4 separate regions of the Homo sapiens genome follow, and regions 1, 2 and 4 are each linked to region 3. The links are contacts of gene promoters, found by promoter capture Hi-C in human tissues and cell types (Jung and others, 2019). All regions are on one chromosome and are shown on one strand. Each heading gives the region's core, a stretch centred on a gene start or on the middle of the fragment in contact. The rest is flanking DNA. Distances are from core to core; before and after follow the strand shown.

Evidence for each region. The method cuts DNA at HindIII sites, captures the fragments that hold promoters and counts their contacts. A contact is called where the count stands out against the background at its distance.
Region 1: a fragment that was not itself captured here is called in contact with the fragment with the promoter of CITED2 in region 3 in 1 of the 25 tissues and cell types used here (lymphoblastoid cells).
Region 2: a contact is called between a fragment that was not itself captured here and the fragment with the promoter of CITED2 in region 3, in 1 of the 25 tissues and cell types used here (lymphoblastoid cells).
Region 4: a fragment that was not itself captured here is called in contact with the fragment with the promoter of CITED2 in region 3 in 1 of the 25 tissues and cell types used here (lymphoblastoid cells).

What each region holds. Positions count from the first base shown.
Region 1 is chr6:140,394,094-140,396,849 of GRCh38, reverse strand. No RefSeq gene overlaps it. Among named protein-coding and RNA genes, the nearest start is that of MIR3668, 190 kb to the right of the region's middle. The HindIII fragment of the contact is 3,780 bases long and covers 1-2,756 here.
Region 2 is chr6:140,557,109-140,559,808 of GRCh38, reverse strand. All of the region lies in intron 1 of LOC105378027 (a long non-coding RNA gene), which reads right to left. Among named protein-coding and RNA genes, the nearest start is that of MIR4465, 130 kb to the left of the region's middle. The HindIII fragment of the contact is 5,092 bases long and covers 1-2,700 here.
Region 3 is chr6:139,373,392-139,376,201 of GRCh38, reverse strand. It overlaps CITED2 (Cbp/p300 interacting transactivator with Glu/Asp rich carboxy-terminal domain 2), which reads left to right and starts at 1,554. Exons shown (of 2, transcript NM_006079.5): 1 at 1,554-1,789; 2 at 2,250-2,810. The coding sequence starts at 2,258. RefSeq lists silencers at 706-1,015, 1,186-1,565, 2,026-2,175, 2,746-2,810 and enhancers at 1,716-1,885, 2,396-2,455. The HindIII fragment of the contact is 4,975 bases long and covers 1-2,810 here.
Region 4 is chr6:140,507,483-140,510,182 of GRCh38, reverse strand. No RefSeq gene overlaps it. Among named protein-coding and RNA genes, the nearest start is that of MIR4465, 170 kb to the left of the region's middle. The HindIII fragment of the contact is 4,567 bases long and covers 1-2,700 here.

The sequences.
Region 1 (2,756 bases), core at 1-2,500, 1.0 Mb before region 3:
CTCCAGATATAAGTTCTAAGGCTGTGAAAAAGAAAATTTACTGGATATAACAGAACTTTAGAGCATTGTAGATATTTTTTAGAAACATTAAATAACTGGAAAAATACTGGAGGTAATATTCGGTCCCAGGTGGCAGATGTCGACTAATTTCTTAAACATACGTATAATTGACAATTTTCCTGTTTTTTTTTTTTTATATTTGGAAAGCTGAACATGGTACATGAAGCAAACAAGATCAAGACCTCAGCATCCTCTCTGCTAACCACAAGTGGTTGATTTTGTTCAAAGCTGCTCTATCCTCTCACCTTGGTGAATATTTTAATCCCTAAAGGTGACAGCAGCCTGTGTTTGAAAGTCTTTCATTTTGAAAATAAGCAGAGGCTCTAAAAAACCTCAGGAGTTCAAATAGGGTAATAAGACCTTGAATTTGGTTCTCAGGAGATTGCTTACCAGTTTGCTAAATAATATATGGTAATTTTCTTGCTGCCCATCTGGCCCCCGAGGTACTCTTGTCTTCCCATAGTCATCTCCTTCTACATGCTCTGTTTTCTGCTATATTGAAATATGTTTTGTTGCTGAGTATTGGTATAACATCAGTTGTTAATGCACAATTATATTCAAGAAATATATGTAGTATCTCTCCATTATGGGTCACTAAGACTCTCTCAATTCTATACCTTGAACCCCTTCCTTATGCAAATTTCAGTGTTGGAAATATAAACGAGGATGCAGTAACTTCCATCAAAGGGCTTGAAATCTTTAGCTACATAAAGAAAGTTACTCAAATATTCATAACCCAAGGTGAATTAACATAAATGCCATATTAAAATGCAAATCAAGCAACATTCAAAGGTTGAAAGAAAAGAGAATATTGAGGGGTTAAGAAAACAGAATATGGCAGATACATAATCAATTGTGTACCTGGAAGAATGAGTTAATATTAACACAGAAAGTTGGGAGTCAGAGAGAATTTCAGGTAGAAATAACATTAACAAAACCCATAAGAGTTTATCAGAGTCCTACTGGAAGCAGTAAAAGTAATACAACTTTAAACATGGAGATACAACAGTGAGCAGCAGGAGGGAGGCATATTAGGAAGGAATATTAGAAAAATACTACTACTGGAAAATGCCTGGCTGGAGAATTTATTATTCAGAATATTCAGATAACCAATGAAATTTAAATAATTATGTATAAGGCGGGGCCCAATATGATTCCATATGCACTTTGGGAAGTATAATCTGACAAAAAAATTAACAAGAAGTGATACGGGATGCATAGCTTCTCTTTTTCTCCCCTAAGTTCTATAAACTACCTTAACCTAAAGGATGATAAAGATTTGCCAATCTTGGACTGTGCAACTAAGTAGTTGCACGGTGGTGTTCAACAAGTAACATGTTAATATTTATTTACTACATAGAACTAGTAATTTTTACTGACAGCTTTCCAGGCATTTTCAAGAGGCATACTTCCCCCACTGTATTTTTGTGTGACACACACGCACACTGATCCCTAATACATATACGTGGATACATGCACATGGATATATATATACATGGATTGCTCAGAGTGTAGACAGCAGTTTGCTTTAAATAAGGAGAAAATTACCCCCATTTAAAAATACCATAAGTGATGGTAGATGTGGTCATTTTAAAAAATACTCCTTAATGCCTATAATGAGAAGGGAGTGGATTCTATTGTTTCAGGGAGGCAGGAAATCAATATGGAAACAATGGACTTGAACTACACTCTAGACCAGACCAAAGGAACCTAATAGACGTATACAGAACATTCCATTCAATCCCTACAGACTACACATTTTTCTCAAGTGCACAAAACATTCTCCAGGATAGATTATATGTTAGGTCACAAAACAAATCTTAATAAATTTAAGAAAATTGAAATCATATCAAGTATATTTTCTGAACATAATGGCATGAAACTACAAGTCAGTAACAGAATAAAATTTGGAAAATTTATAAATATGTAGAAATTAAACAACATGATCCTAAACAACCAATCGATCAAGGAAGAAATTAAAAGCAAAATTAAAACATATGTTGAGAAAAATGAAAATGGAAACACAACATACCAAAGCTTATAGGATGCAGTGAAAATAGTTCTAAGACAGAAGTTTATAGCAATAAACACATCTGAAAAGCAGAAAGATCACAACTAAACAACCTAATATTAAACCTCAAAAAACAGAAAGAGAAGAATAACTAGCCCAGAGTTAATAGCAGGAAAGAAATAACGTCAGAGCAGAAAGAAATCAAATAAATCCTAGAAAAATGATAGAAAAGATAAACAAAAGAGAGGTTTTTTTTAAAAAAGATAAACAAAATCAACAAACTTTTTACTAGTCTAACTAAAAAAGAGAGAGAAGCTAAAAGCATCTTTTATTCTTTAGGCACTCCATCTCTTGCAGCAAGGAATGACCATCTGACTGAATTTTTGATCAGTGAGGTATAAGCAGATGTCTTCCAGAAAGACTTTTTGTATGAGCTTTATTGTGATATAATTCACATACCCTAAAATTCACATAGTTAAAGCATCAGATTAAATTCCTTTTCGTATATTTACAAAGTTTTGCAATCATCATCACAGTCAATTGTAGATCACTTTTATCAGCCCTCCAAAAAACTCTGTTCTCATTATCCCCTCAATCTTATATGCCCTAGATAAACATTACTCTCTTTCTTCATAGAATTGACCATCTGGACATTTTGTATAAATGGAATCATGTAATATGTGGT
Region 2 (2,700 bases), core at 115-2,614, 1.2 Mb before region 3:
TAAGACTTACTGGTCCATTTAAAAATCCTGAAGAAATGGAATTTGAACTTGATTTTACAATTGGTTAAAAGGAATGGCTCAGCTTTTATTTTTTTGAAAACATTCAGCTGATACCCTCACCTAATTATCTGTTGGTTGTTATGTAGATTTAATGCAATATCATCATTAAAAGAATGTTAAAACATTTTAAACTCAAAGCTTTATATAATTGTGTTGTTTTAAAATTTTTTCAGGTAAAGAAAATAGTTTCTTATTAAGACATGGTTTTTATATGTACAGATTAAAGGTTATTTTCTAGTCATTTCTTCTGTTTATTATGAAAGTTACAAAAATATGCACAAATTGAGAAGAATATGATCAATCTCCATGTGGTCATAATTCAATGTTTACAATTATCAATTAATGGTCAATTTTCTACATATATAGCTCCCTAAGAAAGATTATGAATGAAAGAACAACCATTGGACCATGATTATCTGTATATATTTCAGTATATAATTCTACAAAATTAGGGCCCTTTTTATAAAAATAACATTTAATCATTATCTCATCTAAGATAAATTAACACTAATTACTTTAATGTCACCAGTTATCTAATTAATGTTCAAATTTTCTCAATTGTATCATAATTTTTATTACAGTTTGTTTGATCAGAATTCAAATAAGGTCCATACACAGCAACAGATTGGTATATCTTAGTCTTATTTAATTGCTAAGTTCTCATTTCATCTATTTTTTATTTCAAGATTTTTGCTCTTATTGTTTAAAAAAAACAAGGTTATTGAATCAATTTCTATACTTTTGATTTTATTTATTTCAGATGTATTTAAAAATACTAGGCAAATAAAGCGTATTTTTGGGAAAGAGCTTAGTACAACACCTGTCACATGGTAACTACTCCATAATCCTTAACTACTCTGTATCCTTGATGACCATTCAAAGTATATCCTGCTGCAGTAATTCTAAACCAAAGGCAGATCCACAGCTGACCATCCCTCTCTGGATAGTGGCATTCATGGCAGTCATAGTGGCCGAATTCACATTTTGAATTGTGTCCCTCCAACAGATATATTGAAGTCCTAACCTCTGGTACCTGTGAATGTGACCTTATTTGGCAATAGTGTCTTCACAGATGTACTCAAGTTACACAAAGTTCATACCTATTTAGATTGAGCCTTAGTCCAAGATGACTGGTGGCCTTATAAGAAGAGAAAAGAGAGGAACAGATTGAGACACACAGGGAGAATGCCACATGATGACAGAGGTAGAAATGAGAGTGATGCATTTACCTGTCAAGGGGTGCCAAGCATTGCCAGCAAAACTAGAAGCTAAGAGAGAGAGCCATAGAATAGACTTTCCCTTAGAGCCTTCAGAAAGCATGCCCTGCCAACAACTCAAGTATTGACTTCTGGCCTCCAGAACTGTGAGAGAATAAATATTGTTTAAGCTACCCTGCTTGTAGTAGTTTTTTTCAGCAGCCTTAGGAAACTAATTCATATTCCATCAGCAACCCATCTTGAGTTAGGAAAGAGTAAAGTCTAATATTGAGAAAATAAAAGAAAGATTAATGTTAGAAAGAAGCTCATATGATGTCTTAAAAAGAAATTGGAGAGATTAATGATGACGGGAAGAAATGGACAACAAAGGGAAGATCGGTACGAAGAGAAGGTTTTGTATAGATGCTCTGTTTAACATCAGAGGATACAAAATAAGAGACATTGGGGAAATGGAAGAAACCATAAGACTCTCTTCATTGTCATTGTTACTACTGCACGAAGGCAGTGACCCAATCCCTGAAATTCAATGGGATTCTGAAATTTCTGCCCATAAGTAAAGTTGAAAACTGCATAGAAATATTTTCTATGGTGCAAGAAGGAGAAAATAACAGAGATTTTGGTAAAGTGTTAAGATATTCCTTTATTTTTCTAGTCTGATGAATGAATTAAGAATTGTACTGGCCTAAAAGCAAATGAAATCTTTATTTGTCTCTCATGGAGAAGACTCTGAAGGTGAACAGAACAGGGCTGATATGGGCAACTATAATCATCAGAGAGCCAGCCTACTCTTGTCCTTTTTTCACCTTTCTAACTTGTGGTTATAACTTCGTATCATCTTAAGGACCATAAAGGTTGAAGCATCAGCCATTACATTACAGGTCCAAGCCTAAAGGAGGAAATAAGTGGACCGGTCAAAAAGTACTTTCTGCCTGAGATATCAATTTTAAGTAGTCCTCACAAAGGCTTGCATTTTAAAATACATCTCATTGGCCAACATTAGTCACTTGGTTACATTTAGCTAAGAGCTCATACAATTCGGACAAAAATCATCCAGGATTTTTTGACTGATGTAGTATCATATAGAATAAATTTACTTCTGAAGGTGAATGTTTGTAACTAAGCTGAATTACTCCACATCAGGCTTACAATCCAGCCATCAAGAAAATGTTTAAAGCTTGCCTGGGACCAACCGGGTGAATTTGACTCAGTCAATTCTTTGTTCCAAGTGTTACTTGAAATATCTATACTCGCCTCAGCCGCCATTTTGCATTAGCTAAAATCAGTTTGTTTAGCACTTTTAAAAACACCCTTTTTTCTTCTCTCCACTTTCCCCCATCCCCTCCGCTTTGGATAGGGGACTCTTTTGAAGATTCATTTTTCCTTGTCTAGGACACGGATTCACCGAATTTATAGTAAAAATTCT
Region 3 (2,810 bases), core at 305-2,804:
AAAAAGACGAGGGGGGGGCGGGGAGGCGGACTCGCTCTTCGCAGCAGGAAGTCTTCAATGGCTATCGAGTTATGAAGAAACAACTGCCCAGAAGTCCTTATTCGGAGCGCTAAACTCGATTTTACCACATAAAGAGCAATGTAAAAGCTCAGAACAGCCCCATCATGGTGTTGGGGAAACAACTCGGCTTCCCCATGTGAGAAAGCCAGAGAGCTCCGACTTGGTAGTAGCCCAGACCTGTGTTAGGGGTTTTATTTGCAAGTCAATGAACCAAACGGGCGACCAGGCTCGTTGTGCCGCGTTGTGGAAGCAAGGTTATTATTATCGCCCATTGCCCCACTGAACAATTTCACTGAAAAGGAAGAGTCCCAGCCGTGTGTGTGCGCGTGGTGCCATACGGGACGTGCAGCTACGTGCCCACCTCCAGAACGACTTTATTTACAAAGCGATTACCACGTTATCTATTTGTTTTCCTTTTCCAGCAAGAGCAGCCTTACTCAGCCCTCAAATTTCTTAATTACAAACCCGTTTGCTTCTAAATCAACCCCAAACCGTCAGGCAGAGCCCGGAGGGAGGCTCTGCAAGTTTGTACACACCCCCACCTCCCGGATCCAGGGCAACAGCAGAAGCAAGTAACTGTGTATGTGCAAAAAGGTGGATCTGGGGACGAGGATCGCTGAGTTTGTTTACAGAGCAGAGACGCCTCAGCTCGGATGCCAAAGCTACCAAGAGCTGCAAACGCAAACTTAGCAGAAGCACACGTACCCCGGGAGCGGCAGGCGGGCCCGAAAGCGCGGACTGGAATTCCAGGGCGCGGGAGCGGGGGTGGCCGGGCCCTCGAGCGCGCTCCGTCCACCTGCAGCGGCTGCCCCTCCCCGCCCCCAGCTCCTGTCCTTGAAAGGAGTGGAGGAAAAAAATGCATCTACAAGCGGTGATCTAGAGTAGGTCTACCCACTGCCCGTATGAAAACACAAAGGCACAGCCTAGGAAGGCGCGCTCAGGAAAGGGCGCATTATTTGTCCGGGTCTTTAAAACCCAACTCGAGGAAGCACAGCCATTCTTCGCTGCCTGTGGAAGCTTTTGCAAAACCGGGGAGGCACAAGGGCACTCTGGAGGGCGGGGGGCGCTGGGCGAGTCCCCTTTTCCCGTAGAGAGCGGGGCAGATCGCTAGGTGAACCGAGTGAGAAAGCTGGGGGTGGGGTAGATCCAGCCTGAGGGGGGCGGTGAGCTCTCCTCGTGGCTATCCCGGCAGGCTCTACCTTCGGGCGGGGCGGCAGGGGAGGATTTTCCCCCTGCCTCGGGGGTGGCTGAGCCAACCTCGCGTTTCTGGGCCGGGAAGAAACCAGAGTCGGGGGGCGACGGGGCGACTGGGCGGCCCCCGGGCCCCGCAGCCTCTGCAGCACGTGCCGCGGGCGGCGGGGACGCGGCTCCGGGACCCGGTCCAGGGTGTTCGCGGTGTTCCGGAATCCGCGTCTTGGCGCCGCCCGCCCTGGAGGCTCTCGCTCCGCCTTTCCGAAATGCCTATATTAACTGTGGCCAAAGCCCTAAGAAACACAGCTCATTGTTGGCAGCTGCCGGGCGGTCCTGCCGAGCTGTGAGGGCAACGGAGGGGAAATAAAAGGGAACGGCTCCGAATCTGCCCCAGCGGCCGCTGCGAGACCTCGGCGCCGACATCGCGACAGCGAAGCGCTTTGCACGCCAGGAAGGTCCCCTCTATGTGCTGCTGAGCCGGTCCTGGACGCGACGAGCCCGCCCTCGGTCTTCGGAGCAGAAATCGCAAAAACGGAAGGTAAGCGCGACGGGCGAAGCTGGCTGGGGCTCTTGCCAGCCCAGTCCTCCGAGGGCAGGGTTTGCCCGGAGGAAGAGCGTGAGGCGAAGCTGGGGAATAACAACAGGATGTGCAACAACAGGATGAGGAGGGCTGATTTAATGCCTGAAGTTCGCAGCAGGGCTACGGGGCACTTCCTTTATTAGGCCACTTCGGGGAGCAAAGGGGGTGTGGGCTCGGGTCCCCCCGCCCGATCGCAGGGGAAGGGGCTGTTTGTGCAGCGTCCGGCTGTGTTATGAGTGGTAGCTCTTCCGTGGTGGCTAGCCCGGGTGCACAGGCTGTTAGTGGGATCTTGGGGGTGGTGGTTCGCAGCCGACGTGCGCCCGGGAATCCTGGGGGGCAGAGGCGAGCAAAAGTGGGGTGCGCTGTGGTGGGCGACACGTGTGGCGCGGGTCTCATTATCTGCCCTTTTCACTTCCAGGACTGGAAATGGCAGACCATATGATGGCCATGAACCACGGGCGCTTCCCCGACGGCACCAATGGGCTGCACCATCACCCTGCCCACCGCATGGGCATGGGGCAGTTCCCGAGCCCCCATCACCACCAGCAGCAGCAGCCCCAGCACGCCTTCAACGCCCTAATGGGCGAGCACATACACTACGGCGCGGGCAACATGAATGCCACGAGCGGCATCAGGCATGCGATGGGGCCGGGGACTGTGAACGGAGGGCACCCCCCGAGCGCGCTGGCCCCCGCGGCCAGGTTTAACAACTCCCAGTTCATGGGTCCCCCGGTGGCCAGCCAGGGAGGCTCCCTGCCGGCCAGCATGCAGCTGCAGAAGCTCAACAACCAGTATTTCAACCATCACCCCTACCCCCACAACCACTACATGCCGGATTTGCACCCTGCTGCAGGCCACCAGATGAACGGGACAAACCAGCACTTCCGAGATTGCAACCCCAAGCACAGCGGCGGCAGCAGCACCCCCGGCGGCTCGGGCGGCAGCAGCACCCCCGGCGGCTCTGGCAGCAGCTCGGGCG
Region 4 (2,700 bases), core at 133-2,632, 1.1 Mb before region 3:
AAACTATGCTGAAGTTCACTTTTCATATTTAAGTTAAATGTATAATAACACCTAAAATGTTTTACTGTAAAATTCAGAGTTACTAGTTAAAAGTAACATACTTCTGATACCTTAGTAGGTACTCCCAATATTTTAGACATTAACAATTTTTAAAATTTGTAACAACGTATTTTGGTTAATTGTTCAACATTTTAATTGATAAATACTTTTGAAGTAACATTTTATGCCTAGTATAGCCTACAATAACAAATAATAATAATTTATTTTAAATAAATGAAATAAATTAAAGAATTATTTTAATTTTAAATGAAAATAAGTTCCAACAGCATAATGTATATTTAACCTTAAATTCTCACCACTCAACAATTGAAATTCTGATATCCTAAATATTCTACTTCACTAAAATAATAAATACCAGAAATTAGATTGTAATTAGTTAAAATTAAAAAGGGCAGAAACATAACTGAGAAAATATAACTAACCTTTTTAGAAATTGGGTTTTTTTTTTTTTTTTACTTAGCCGCTAATTTATTCAGTTAGTGTATCATTTTTTTGTGTGTGCTAAGTAATTAGCAGGTCACATCAGAAGATAGAAAAAAATGTTTAACAGAAACATCTACTTCTTTTTAATACCTTTGGGATCATTACCTCTGCTATGACCTCAGTGTAATTGTAACAATTTAGATAATCTTTATTTATACTAAAATACATGAAAGATATATGCTAATTTTAAAGCTTAAAAATAGAACAGAAATTAAAGAAGCCTTTTCCTCATGGCTGAAAGTGCATAAAATTAATTTGAGTCCTATGAATTTACTCTAATAATAGTTCAATTTGTGTGACAAATGCTTCTAAGTAATTTATACTAAAACTCTATTCTTATCTACAAATAACAAATTCCACTTACCAAATCTAACATCTTTATTAGCAAAATATACATGTTGCCCCTTATTTGCACATAAGTATACTTGGTGATGTGGGCCTGAAGACATTTAAGAAAAATATCAAGTACTCAAACGAACTATGGTAATAAGTATCATATAAATTGAATGGAAATGAACTAGATAGTGGCAGATCTTGTAGATTAAAATACATTTAAGGAACATTTAAATTTAAAAAGTAAAAGGTAACAGCTAAAATACCAAATTGAGTAGTACTCACTATGCATAAAAAACCCATAAAAAGTACGTTAGTGCTTTTGATTAAATGTACAAATACAAGTTCTATTATTCTTGAATCCACTAAAATAGATTATCAAAGGCACATTCTGAGTGTGAGGACCTCACACAAATGCTCTTGGTGACTTTCCTTTAATGCCAAGAGCCTGTCCTGGAAATCTTCATCCTTAACAAGACACCATGCGCAAAATTTATAATCTGACAGCTCTCCCCTCTTACAATTTATTACTGACATCTTCTCATCCTGTTCTACACAAAACCACTGATGGTTCAAAAAATACCTATAAACTCAGAAGAGAAATTGTCATGAGCCTTAGTTCATAAACTTTAAAGTAGTTTTTATGGCATTCATTCTCTGAACCTGGGATAACCTCACTATGTGTCTTGCCCATAATGTGCTGATCTCATTTTTCCTTATTCACGACCAAGCACACAAAAATAATTTAGTTATTTTTAGTGATTAGATTTAAAGACATGCCAGAATTAAAAAATATATAATTTATTTATTTTGCAAGAGACATCCAGGGCTCCATTCTACCATTGTAGACTCCTGTGTCATTCTCTCATCCCATGGAGCCAGAATTCTAGGCACATTTGGCTTCTCAACATTTGCTAAATATTCTGTATATTTTTATGGTTCTACATCTTTAAATGTACATATCTTGTTTTCTAAAATGCCGTTCTTCAGTCTCAATTTTCTGTCAGGCAAATGTCTCTTTAAACAAAGTCAATACCAATATTATTTCCATTCCACCGCTTCCATCTCTGACCTCATTTCCTTCCACTGACCCAACCAAATGTATCACATTTATATTTTATTCCATGGCACTTTATATTCTCTTGTTGTTGAGGTGATGCTAGCACACTGAGAACCCTGGATCCAGAGTCAGACGCCCTGAGTTTGAGTCATGACTCTCATTGATGAGCTGTGCAACCTTGCGCATATTCCTCAATCTTTACAGGTTTCAGTTTCCTCCTTGTTGAAATGGGCATAAGAGTAATTATGATTGTTGTAAGCATTAAATAAGATAATGCATGTGGAAAACTTAGAAGTGTGCTTAGCACATGCTCAATCATTTTACCTATTATTTACCAAGTTATTTGAAAATATACTTGGCCTGCCCAGGCGCCGTGGCTCACGCCTGTAATCCCAGCACTTAGGGAGGCCGAGGTGGGCGGATCACCTGAGGTCGGGTGTTCAAGACCAGCCTGAGCAACATGGAGAAACCCAGTATCTACTAAAAATTCAAAAATTAGCTGGGCATGGTGGCACATGCCTGTAATCCCAGCTACTCAGGAGGCTGAGGCAGGAGAATCATCGCTTGAACCCAGGATGTGGAGGTTGCCATGAGCCAAGATCACGCCACTGCACTCCAGTCTGGGCAACAAGAGAGAAACTCTGTCTCAGAAAAAGAAAAAAGAAAAGAAAAGAAAATATACTTGACTAATAACTAAGAATAAAATATTATTTTCTAATAACTTCTAGAAAGAAGGGATTTTTAAAATCATCTTTCTGTCATCA